Regions from separate parts of the Homo sapiens genome. Here regions 2 and 3 are each linked to region 1. Evidence: promoter capture Hi-C in 16 types of primary human blood cells and fetal thymus (Javierre and others, 2016). All regions are on one chromosome and are shown on one strand. Each heading gives the region's core, a stretch centred on a gene start or on the middle of the fragment in contact. The rest is flanking DNA. Distances are from core to core; before and after follow the strand shown.

Region 1 (3,589 bases), core at 112-2,611:
AAAACAAATATATCCTCACGTGTCAACTTCACAGTCAGGCTTCCTTTCTTGGGGAGAGCCCTTTCTCCATTCAGATCAAAGGTTAGCCTGTGAATTCTCCCCCAGAGAAATGTGGGAGCCCAGAGGTGGCTGAATATGACCAGCTAGAAGCAATGTCTTCTTAACTGGGCCACCAAGGAGCTTCAAGACCAGTGCACATTTTCTAGTTCAGTGGTTTTCAAATGCCAAGTTTTGATGCATTATTAGCTTGTGAAATAAATGTAGTGGCCTCTAACTAGCGTTTTGTAAAACAAAGTAAAATAGAGGAAACATTTTTAAACCAGATTTTTCCAAATGGAAGGGGAAGTTTTGTTTTTGTGAAACTTTGGTTTTGGGTATGGTTGTGTGTGGGTGTGTGCACTGTGATATTGTGTACAATGGTGATTTTTACAGTGGATCACTGACAGAGAATTTGGATAAACACCGTTGTAGTGCATCCAGGAGAGATTTGCAATCATAGGGAGAGGTCGTTTTAGACAATTACTCCTGCAAGTCATACATTTGAAGTTAAAACAACAGCCACAATGACAATAACAAAAACAGTAAACCTGGTAGGCAGGCAGGTGAGGGGTAGGGGAGGGGGTCAGGAAACATGAAAATGAAGAATCCTGGACTGGACTGGCTGCACTACTTGCGATTAAACTGCTAGACGTGTTCCTGCAGCTGGGAGGCAGCAGCCCTTCCCAGGAGCACCACATTGCCTGAGCAGAAGGTCCAAGTTATAATCTGGTGGGCAACCTTATGTTTAAAAACAGACACACAGACCTGCCAGCCTCACCTGGTATTGGCGAGAGAATCCTAAGGTGTTCGTTGCTAGTCTTGCTTGGGGGAGGTGAACACAAAACAACAGTGCATTAGAAAGAGCCTCGCCTTTGGAGTCAGACAGACCTGGGTCTCACTGTTAGCTCTGCCATTTATTAGCCCTTGGGCAAAACGTTTCATATTTCTCTTAGCCTCAGTTTCCACATCTGTCAATTGGGCATAAAAAGATATACTTCATAAGGTGGCTCTGAGGGTTAAGTAGAGTAGCCTATCTCGGACAGCCTAATAAGTATTCGTTCCCTCCACTTACCTTGTGTACCGTAGCTCCCCCTGCCACTGGGAAACAGACCACCTCGTAGGGAGGACGCTTTTCTTTTCCTTTGCCGTCATCGCTCATAGCGGTGCAAGCGCGTGGACAAGCAGTGGGAAGGGGATGGTCCAGGAGCCACACTCAGGACTCTAAAGAGGTACCTCAGGCAGTGATCCCCTGCCTGGAGTTGGACCCCCCTACAAAGAGCCAGGTTGTGGCAGTGACCTCCCCGTGATTCCGAGGGCTGCCACATCACCACCAAAGTCCAGCTCTCCTGCTTCGGCACAAGGCTGTGACTTGTCATTGATGTTTTGGGTCACGGACCTTTTCCACTCACGGAATTCCACTTCTGTTCTCCAAGCAGCTCTCTGTCTAACCAGTAACTGCGACTCTCCTCCAGGTGGAAGATCTCACCGCCAGCCATGATGCTGCTCTCCTAGAGATGGAAAATAACCACACAGTTGCCATCACAATCCTGCAGGATGACCACGACCACAAAGTCCAAGGTAGCTCCCAGCCTCGTGTGCAGCAGGCAGGGGTGGGTGGTGCAATCCGAGCCTTTCCTGCTGCAGATGTGTGGAGCCCCCCTTCCTCTCTTGTCCCTCCTTTCCTGTCTTTCCCTCCTGGTGCATTTTTTCCTGTTGGCTCCTGGGAAAAGAAGAGATAGGAATTAAGGATCCAGGTAGTTAGCTGCTTCTTTCCTCCAATGCAGTTATCCTCAACCTTGATGAATACTGGAATTCCCCGTCCCCTGGGGAGCGGTAACAAAAGACCAATGCCAGCCTCAGTCCCACCCCAGGGATTCTGATGTCCTTGGTCCATAGTGCAGTGTAAACATCAAGATTTCTTAAGACTCCTTAGGGGATTCTAATGTGTAGCCACACTTGAGGGCCACTGTCTAAAGCAGGCATGGAAATCGTGCACTTTTTTTTTTCCTCTTTTTTTTTTTTTTTTTTTTTGAGACAGAGTCTCACTTTGTTGCCCAGGCTGGAGTGCAGTGGTGCGATCTCAGCTCACTGAAACTTCTGCCTCCTGGGTTCAAGCGATTCTCCAGCCCCAGCTGGAGCCTCCAGCCCGAGTAGCTGGGATTACAGGTGCCCACTACCACACCCGGCTAGGCTTTATGATGTTTATTGCCTTATAAAAACAAATGGAAGCCCCGGCATGGATACACTTTCTTCATATTTATGATGTTCTCCGGGCCACTGCAGCATCTGGTTGGATCGGGGTATCCAGAGCTTACACTCATAGACCACATTCACCGTGGGTGTGCGTTAAGTCTCCAGATCTTTCTTTCTACATTTTTGTAACTTTGAATTATCTTTGGGTTTTACGTGGGTCATAACAGCATCATTACTAAGTTCCAGTGAGATTTTCCTTTGTGAAAGAGGCAGCATTTTACACTTTCACATGCATTTACATTAATATGTACAGTTTATTTTTCAACTTTCTCTCGCTTTACTTTTCCCTCCCAGTCAGCTGGTTGTTAAAGTGTGTATTAAAGGCCGGGAGCCGTGGCTCACACCCGTAATCCCAGCACTTTGGGAGGCTGAGGCAGGTGGATCACCTGAGGTCAGGAGTTCAAGACCAGCCTGGCAAACATGGCAAAACCCCGTCTCTACCAAAAATACAAAAATTAGCCAGGCGCGGTGGGCTGGCTACACGGGAGGTTGAGGCAGGAGAATCGCCTGAACCCTGGGAGGCAGAGGTTGCAGTGAGTCAAGATTGCGCCATTGCACTCCAGCAACAAGAGCGAAACTCCGCCTCAAAAAAAAAGTGTGTATTAAAAGCAATGACAGTTAACAATACATTGATAAACTTTTACAATTTGAGAATTAGCATCAGAGTTTTTATTATTGTTAAAATGTTCTCTGTGAACAAGACCCAGTGTGCCATAACCAAGGTCTGTGTTATTGTCACCCTCAAGCACCACCCCCACTACCTCTGGGAACTATTAGTAAGTGACCAAGCTGGAGGCAAGGGATGGTATTTTCCTGGGGACTAGTTAAATGGATTGCCTCGGTCCTGGTAGTGTGTTTCACACTGAGAGTACTGGTCTCTACCCTCGGCTACACATTGGAACCACCTGGAAGTTTTTAAAAATATACTGATGTGTGGCTCTTACCTCTGATATTCCAATTTAATTGCTCTGGGGTGCAGCCCAGGCATCAGAAGGCTTTAAAACTCCCTAGGTGATTCTAATACGCAGGAAAACTTGAGGACCATTGTGTTAAACACCGTATTAAGCGTGAGACAGTGTCATGAGCTTGAAATAAAGAAATACATGATGAAGACACAGTTAGCAATGGTTTATGTCATCTTCAGAATGGATACTGCCTCTTCTTTTCCCTTGGGGCATTGGGATCCTTTGAAAACGCCCTGAAATCTGTCACTAGAGGAAGCTGGTCTCACAAGAAAGAACGTGAGTGGAAATGGTGCAGTGAGCCATGGTGTTGCCTTTTCTTTCTGGATTTTCAC
Region 2 (3,250 bases), core at 152-2,651, 610 kb after region 1:
TCCTCGGCCTGAGTGCTGAGAAGGTGTGGAAGTGTAGCCTAACATTCCGAACTGGAAGCCGTCCCTCACTGCCAAGCAAGGTCACCACCAGGCAACTCCTCCCAACCTCCAACAATCCCCTCATTGGGAACCCTTAGCCTCTGCCCAGACACCCCAGGCCCAGTTTTCTCAAGAGACTTCTGGCATTTCGAAAGCAAACCATCTTTCACTTTTCTCTTCTGGATGAAAACTCTGATTTTTTAAAAAAGCTCCTTTTAAAGAGATTTCCATTGTGAACATCCTTACACCTGCACAAATGCACTCATCTGGCCAGTTGCTGTTCAGAATAACAGTGCCAGAGACAACACTCACCTACACTCCTCCACCTCTTGTCCTGTCTCCCTCCTCCCCCGACATTAGGTTGGGGCTGCATGACTAGTGTGGCCAAAGAAATCTGAGCAGCAGCTTCGGGCTTCCACCCAGGCTGAGGTCATTAAGAGCTAGTGTGGCTTCTCCATCTCTTTCTTTCCCTGTCCTGGAGGCCTCCATCTCTCTCATCCTCTACAGAGGAGTAGCTGCAAGAAAGCAGAGAGCCACCGAACCCACATCAGGCTTTGAGAGTGAGATCTAAACCTGAGACTTGAAGGTTTGTCTACTGTGGCCGCTACCATTAGTACCCGAACTAATAATGTAGGGTCAGTTTTCAGACAGCCCCTTTCACATTCTCAGAAGCAGATGCAATTTTCTATCCCATGCTCACGTCTCAAGCTTGTATGGAGCCTCCACTGTGTGCCAGGCACTACTGGGATGGGGATTAAGAAGGTGAGTAAATCCCTCCCCGGCCTTCCCTAAAGGATTGTGCCATCTATTAGGGCAAGACAGACACATAATGAGCTCACACTCCCGGACAGATCTGTCTCGATGGTGTGGGCAAAGTAATGATCTCTGAAGAACTGTCTCCCGGCTCTCGTTTCAGCAAATCCAGAGTAATCACGGGCGCTAACAGGAAATGTTAGTATCAGAGAGTGTACTTTCTTTGGTCAGGCATATTTTATTGAATCACATTCAATTAGGCTATTAATGGATTCTTTTTTTTTTTTTTTTTTTTTTTTTTTTTTTTTTTTTTTGAGACGGAGTCTCGCTCTGTCACCCAGGCTGGAGTGCCGTGGCGCGATCTTGGCTCACTCCAAGCTCCGCCTCCCGGGTTCACGCCATTCTCCTGCCTCAGCCTCCGGAGTAGCTGGGACTACAGGCACCCGCCACCACACCCGGCTAATTTTTTTGTATTTTTAGTAGAGACGGGGTTTCATCGTGTTAACCAGGATGGTCTCGATCACCTGACCTCGTGATCCGCCCGTCTCGGCCTCCCAAAGTGCTGGGATTACAGGCGTGAGCCACCGCGCCCGGCTATTAATGGATTCTTAATTCTTCATTTAATGAGCACATACTGACCCAGGCACATTCTTAGTGGAGATAGACCTCACCCCAGGAAAGACACAGTCAAGGAAAAGTTCAATAAGAAAATAAACTTCACAGGAAAGTGTTTGTTCTCTCAAGTTATGAAATAAAAAACAAAGCAGGCTTGAGGGGTCATTTGATACCTACTAGGTTGTAAAAAAAAGTATATACAGTTTTATACTGTAAAAAAAAATTATAAAACATCTTTGTTAGTTTGCTAGGGCTTCCATAACAAAATACCACAAACTGAGTGGCTTAAACAACAGAAATTTATTGTCTCACAATTCTGGAGGCCAGAAGCCCAAGATCAAGGTGAGGGCAGGGCTGGTTTCTTCTGAGGACTGAGGCAACCTCAGCCCCAGGCCTCTGTCTCCAGCTTCTGGGGCTTCACGGGCAGTCTCTGTGCTCCTCGGTTTATGGATGCTTCACCCCATCTCTGCCTTCATCTGCAAGTAGTGCCCTCCCTGTCTGTGCACCTGTCTCTGCGTCCAAATTTCCCCTTTTTTGTAAGGACAACAATCATATTGGATTAGGGCCCACCCTAATGATCTCATCTTATTTTGGTCATCTGCAAAAACCTTATTTCCAAATAAGGTCACATTGAAAAGTTCTGGTGGTTTAAGCTTCAACATCTTTAGAAGACACAATCAAATCCTAACAATACCGGCTCTGGCAATACTGAGTTGAAACTGGTCTGCTCACACAATGATGTCTGTAGCCGTAGAAATAGCTGTAAAATGTTAGGGAAGCAATATGGTAATGCGCAGCAGTAACTATCAAGATGAACAGCCTTTGGCCGAGAGGCCCCACTCCCAGGCATGTATCTCACACCTGCTGTGCAGGTCAAATCAGGATGTTAGTCTCCCCAGGGGTACATAGCAGTGAGTGGAAAGGACTCAGTGCTGTGGGTTACAAACATTTTTCCACACCCATCAATTTAATCATATTTCAATATATGTATATTTTATAGTCACCATTTATAGCCCTCCAATGTGCATTTTCTGTTGCTACTAGAACTTTGGTGGGAAAGTTTGAAAAGATCTGTCTTTGGGAAATAATTCAACATAAGCCAAAACCTCCAGATACAAAGATGATTACTGCAGCATTATTGCTATTCCCAAACTAGAAACAAGGACCCATTCCAGCTATTATTTGCCAAGCACCTTCTGTCTATCAGGCATTGTGCTAGGGCCTGGGGATGCAGTGGTAAAACATCATTCCTAGTCCCTATTTGCAAAGAGCCTGTGGCTTCCCATTGATGAATGTTTTAATACATTATATTCTTAACATATTAGTGTAACATGCAAGCACTAAATGGTAGCTAAGAAAAATGTAAATAACATTTAAAATTCATAAAGATTTAATTGAAGATGGCATATTATACTATAACTATTTGAAATATGCATGCTTCTTGACTTTTGTCTGTTTTGTTCACTTCTGTATCCCTGATGCTGAGAACAATACTTGGCATGTAGTAAGCGCTTAATAAGAATTTGGCATTGACCAAAATGGTGAAACCCCATCTCTACCAAAAATACAAAAATTAGCTGGGCATGGTGGCGCATGCCTGTAATCCCAGCTACTCAGGAGGCTGAGGCGGGAGAATCACTTGAACCCGGAAGGCAGATGTTGCAGTGAGCCGAGATCATGCCACTGCAATCCAGGCTGGGTGACAGAGCGAGACTCCGTATCAAAAAAAAAAAAAAAAAAAGAATTTGGTGAACTGAATTAATATACTAAGGACTGGGAGGTTATGCGCAAAATAAAAATTATAAAAAGAAGCCATTGTTGTACTCGGGTCATAGAATCATGA
Region 3 (3,419 bases), core at 3-2,502, 630 kb after region 1:
TGACAGCAATCCCACCTGTTTGATAGGTCTGAGAAAATGTATTAGTCCATTTTCACACTGCTATAAAGAATACCTGAGACTGGGTAATTTGTAAACAGAAGAGGTTTAATTGACACACGGTTCTACAAGGCTGGAGAGGCCTCAGGAAACTTACAATCATGGTGGAAGGTGAAGGGGAAGCAGGGCACTTCTTACATGGTGGCAGGCGAGAGAGATAGCACACGCAGAGGAAACTGTCACTATTAAACCAGATCTCGTGAGAACTCCCTCACAATCACAAGAACAGCATGGGGGAAACTGCCCCCATGATCCAATCACCCCCAACCACCTCCAACCAGGTCCGTCCCTTGACACATGGGGATTACAATTCCAGATGAGATTTGGGTGGGGACACAGAGCCAAACCATATCAGAAGGTATCAACAGAATTGGAACTGCAGTTTAAAGCCAACAACGTGTCGTTTATTTGAGATAACATATTGTTGTCAGGATCAAGCAATCAACAGCACCAATGCAAATGAATTAGGGTCTGTAAAGACAATATATTTAGTAAGCACCAATGCAAATGAATTAGAGTCTGTAAAGACAATGTGCTTAGTAAGCACCGATGCAAATGAATTGGGGTCTGTAAAGACAATGTGCTCAGTATAAAAGTCAACAATTTGATGTGACCACCAGAAACACTAAAGAGATGCTAGGCTCTCTTACAGAAGTGTTGTCTTTCAAGGTAGACAACCTTGTGGTAGAGTGAAAAAAATCCCCTCCTCTCAACCGAAGATATCTAATCCCTGGAAACGGGGAATGTTCCTTTATATGGAGAGAAGGGGAAGGAGGTCTTTGCAAGTGTGATTGAATTAAGGATGTTAAGATGGGGAGACTATCCAGTTGGGTCCTAAATACAATCACATGCATTCTTATACCAGAGAGGCAGAGGGTGATTTGACCACACACAAAACAGAAGGAAATATAAAGACACAGCAGAGAGAGCTTTGCAGATGCTGGCCTCAAAGATCAGAGTGATGCAGTCAACGAATGTCGGCAGCCCCTGGAAGCTGGGAGAGGCAAGGAGCAGATTCTCTCCTGGAGCCTCTGGAGGGAGCATAGCCCTGGTTTGAGCTCCGTGATACTGATTTTGGAATTCTGGTCTCCAGAACTGTGAGAGAATAAACATCTGGTTTTTGGGGTTTTTTTTGTTTGTTTTGTTTGTTTGTTTGTTTGTTTGTTTTTTTCAGACAGAGTCTCACTCCGACACCCGGGCTGGACTGCAGTGGTTCGATCTCAGCTCACGGCAACCTCTGCCTCCCAGGCTCAAGCGATTCTCCTGCCTCAGCCTCCCGAGTAGCTGGGACTACAGGCACATGCCACCAGGCCAGGCTAATTTTTTGTATTTTTAGTAGAAACAGGGTTTCACCATGTTAGCCAGGATGGTCTCAATCTCCTGACCTCGTGATCCGCCCCCCCGGGCCTCCCAAAGTGCTGGGATTACAGGCATGAGCCACCGTGCCTGGACAATATCTGTTGTTTTAAGCCACTAAGTTTGCAGTAAATTTGTTATAGCAGCCCCAGGAAACTAACACAGGGTAAGAGAAGAGAGTTCTCTTTCATTCTTCACTTGATCATACTGTGTTTGGTTCTGAGCACCACAATTTGGGAGATACATTTACCAAAAGAGGCATTAAGAGTTTTCTGAATGGTACCAACAGGAAAAGTTAGGATTCCAGTTGTAAGATGCAAGGTGGCGAGTTTCAGCTTGAAATAAGGAAGCACTGTCTGGACAAAGAGGGAATGGACAGCCTCAGAAGATAGTGACTCCACCGTGGCTGAAGGTATTCAAGCAGAGACTGTGCAGCCATTTGTTAGGAATGTGAATATTGTCAAGAGAATTCAAGCCCTGAGGCAGGGTGGATTCAATGCTGTGTAAGATTCTTTGAACCCAGATTCTGAGGCTGGGTGATTTTGCGGCTGTTCTCAGCTCTCACTGGAGCCGAGGCAGACAGGAAGAAAGAAGGCACACAAGGTTGTAAAAGTCTGAGCGTGCAATGATTAAACCCAGGCACGGATGTGGCTTTGGAGATGGAGAGGAAGGAATGCATTTTTAAAAAGGTTTTGGAGGCTTAAGTAATCGGTCTTTGGCAGCAGCTTGAATTTGGAGAGAGAGCATTTATTAGGTGCCTCCTAAGAGCACTGCCCAGGAGCCATGGGCAAAATAAATATAAGATGGACGATGATCCCCAGGGAGAAAGCAGAGCACACATGTAATCGTTAGGAAATAAGGTTCCAATCATGATTTTTAAAATATGGATAAAAGGGTAGAAACAAAGGGATCAAAGAAGGCTAGATTCACCAGTTTTTGGTTTTGTTTTTGAAGAAGCAGGCTTTGAAAGATGGCCAAATCTAGTGAAGGGAAGAGCAAAAAGCACTTTGGAAAAAGGAGAAAGTGTGACATTAGCAGAGAGGTGCAGGAGGGGCATGAATATCTGGGGTTGAAGCATAACACATGCTGGTGAGGATTGTGTGGACAACAGTAGGGAAGGGTTTGTATCCTCATCGATAAGAGGCCCAGACTCAGATGCCAGGCTTGAAGCTAAAGTTGCAGGTCCAACCATGAGGAAGAGGTTGTGCAGGTGCAAAGCACACAACATGTGCTTGTTGTCACATTCAATTTGAAAGCAGCTGCAGTGTCCCAGAGAGGATCTTGGAGGCCTAGAGGTGGGGAAATGCTTCTTAAACAAAACCTCAAAAGTGCAAAGCATAAGGGAAAAGCTTAATGAATTTGAACACATCCCACTCAAAGGGTTCTATTCAAAGAAGAACAAGGTTATGAGACAGATGAAAGATTGGGAGAAGACACTTGCAATGTCAAAAATAACTAGGAAACAGTATCTAAAATATGCAAGAACCTTGCAAATCAACAAAAATGATGGAAACCCCCTCTGCTCAAAAAACAAAGGCTCAGAAGAGGCAATTTGCAGGAGAGGAAACCCCCCTGAATAACAGGCATGTGAAGAGATGTTTAAACTCATTAGTAGAGAAATACAAATTAAATAGCAATGAGATATCACTTCTATTCACTCAACTGGCCAAAACCAGGAAACTGGATAATGTCAAGTGGTGGTGGGGATGTAGGAATGTTGGAATTCTTGGGCCTTGCTGGGGGTTTGTAGACTGGTACAGCCAATTTGGAGAGCAATACTTCATCAAATTAAATGTACCTGTCTTCTATTTCCCAACAATACCACCCCTGGACATGAATCATAGAAAAAATCCTTCCACACACCCTAAGGGACCATGCACAAAGAGACTTGCTGCAGTTCTTTCTGTGGCAGTAGGTGTCATCCATGGAGGTGGAGGAGCACAAGTGAAAAAGGTACACTCTGAAATACTCTATCAGAGTTGGGAGGAACAGACGACATGTACACG

Evidence for each region. The method cuts DNA at HindIII sites, captures the fragments that hold promoters and counts their contacts. A CHiCAGO score of 5 or more calls a contact.
Region 2: a fragment that was not itself captured here is called in contact with the fragment with the promoter of MTUS2-AS1 in region 1 in 1 of 17 cell types (neutrophils); the score reaches 7.6 in neutrophils.
Region 3: a contact is called between a fragment that was not itself captured here and the fragment with the promoter of MTUS2-AS1 in region 1, in 14 of 17 cell types (total B cells, monocytes, naive CD4 T cells and 11 more). The highest score is 14.2, in total B cells.

Annotation. Positions count from the first base shown.
Region 1 is chr13:29,486,389-29,489,977 of GRCh38, forward strand. It overlaps MTUS2-AS1 (MTUS2 antisense RNA 1), which reads right to left and starts at 1,362. Exons shown (of 3, transcript NR_046378.1): 1 at 1,112-1,362. It overlaps MTUS2 (microtubule associated scaffold protein 2), which reads left to right. Exons shown (of 16, transcript NM_001033602.4): 11 at 1,512-1,617. The HindIII fragment of the contact is 24,751 bases long and covers 1-3,589 here.
Region 2 is chr13:30,098,221-30,101,470 of GRCh38, forward strand. No RefSeq gene overlaps it. Among named protein-coding and RNA genes, the nearest start is that of LINC00365, 9.0 kb to the right of the region's middle. The HindIII fragment of the contact is 1,313 bases long and covers 746-2,058 here.
Region 3 is chr13:30,117,673-30,121,091 of GRCh38, forward strand. No RefSeq gene overlaps it. Among named protein-coding and RNA genes, the nearest start is that of LINC00365, 11 kb to the left of the region's middle. The HindIII fragment of the contact is 3,015 bases long and covers 1-2,760 here.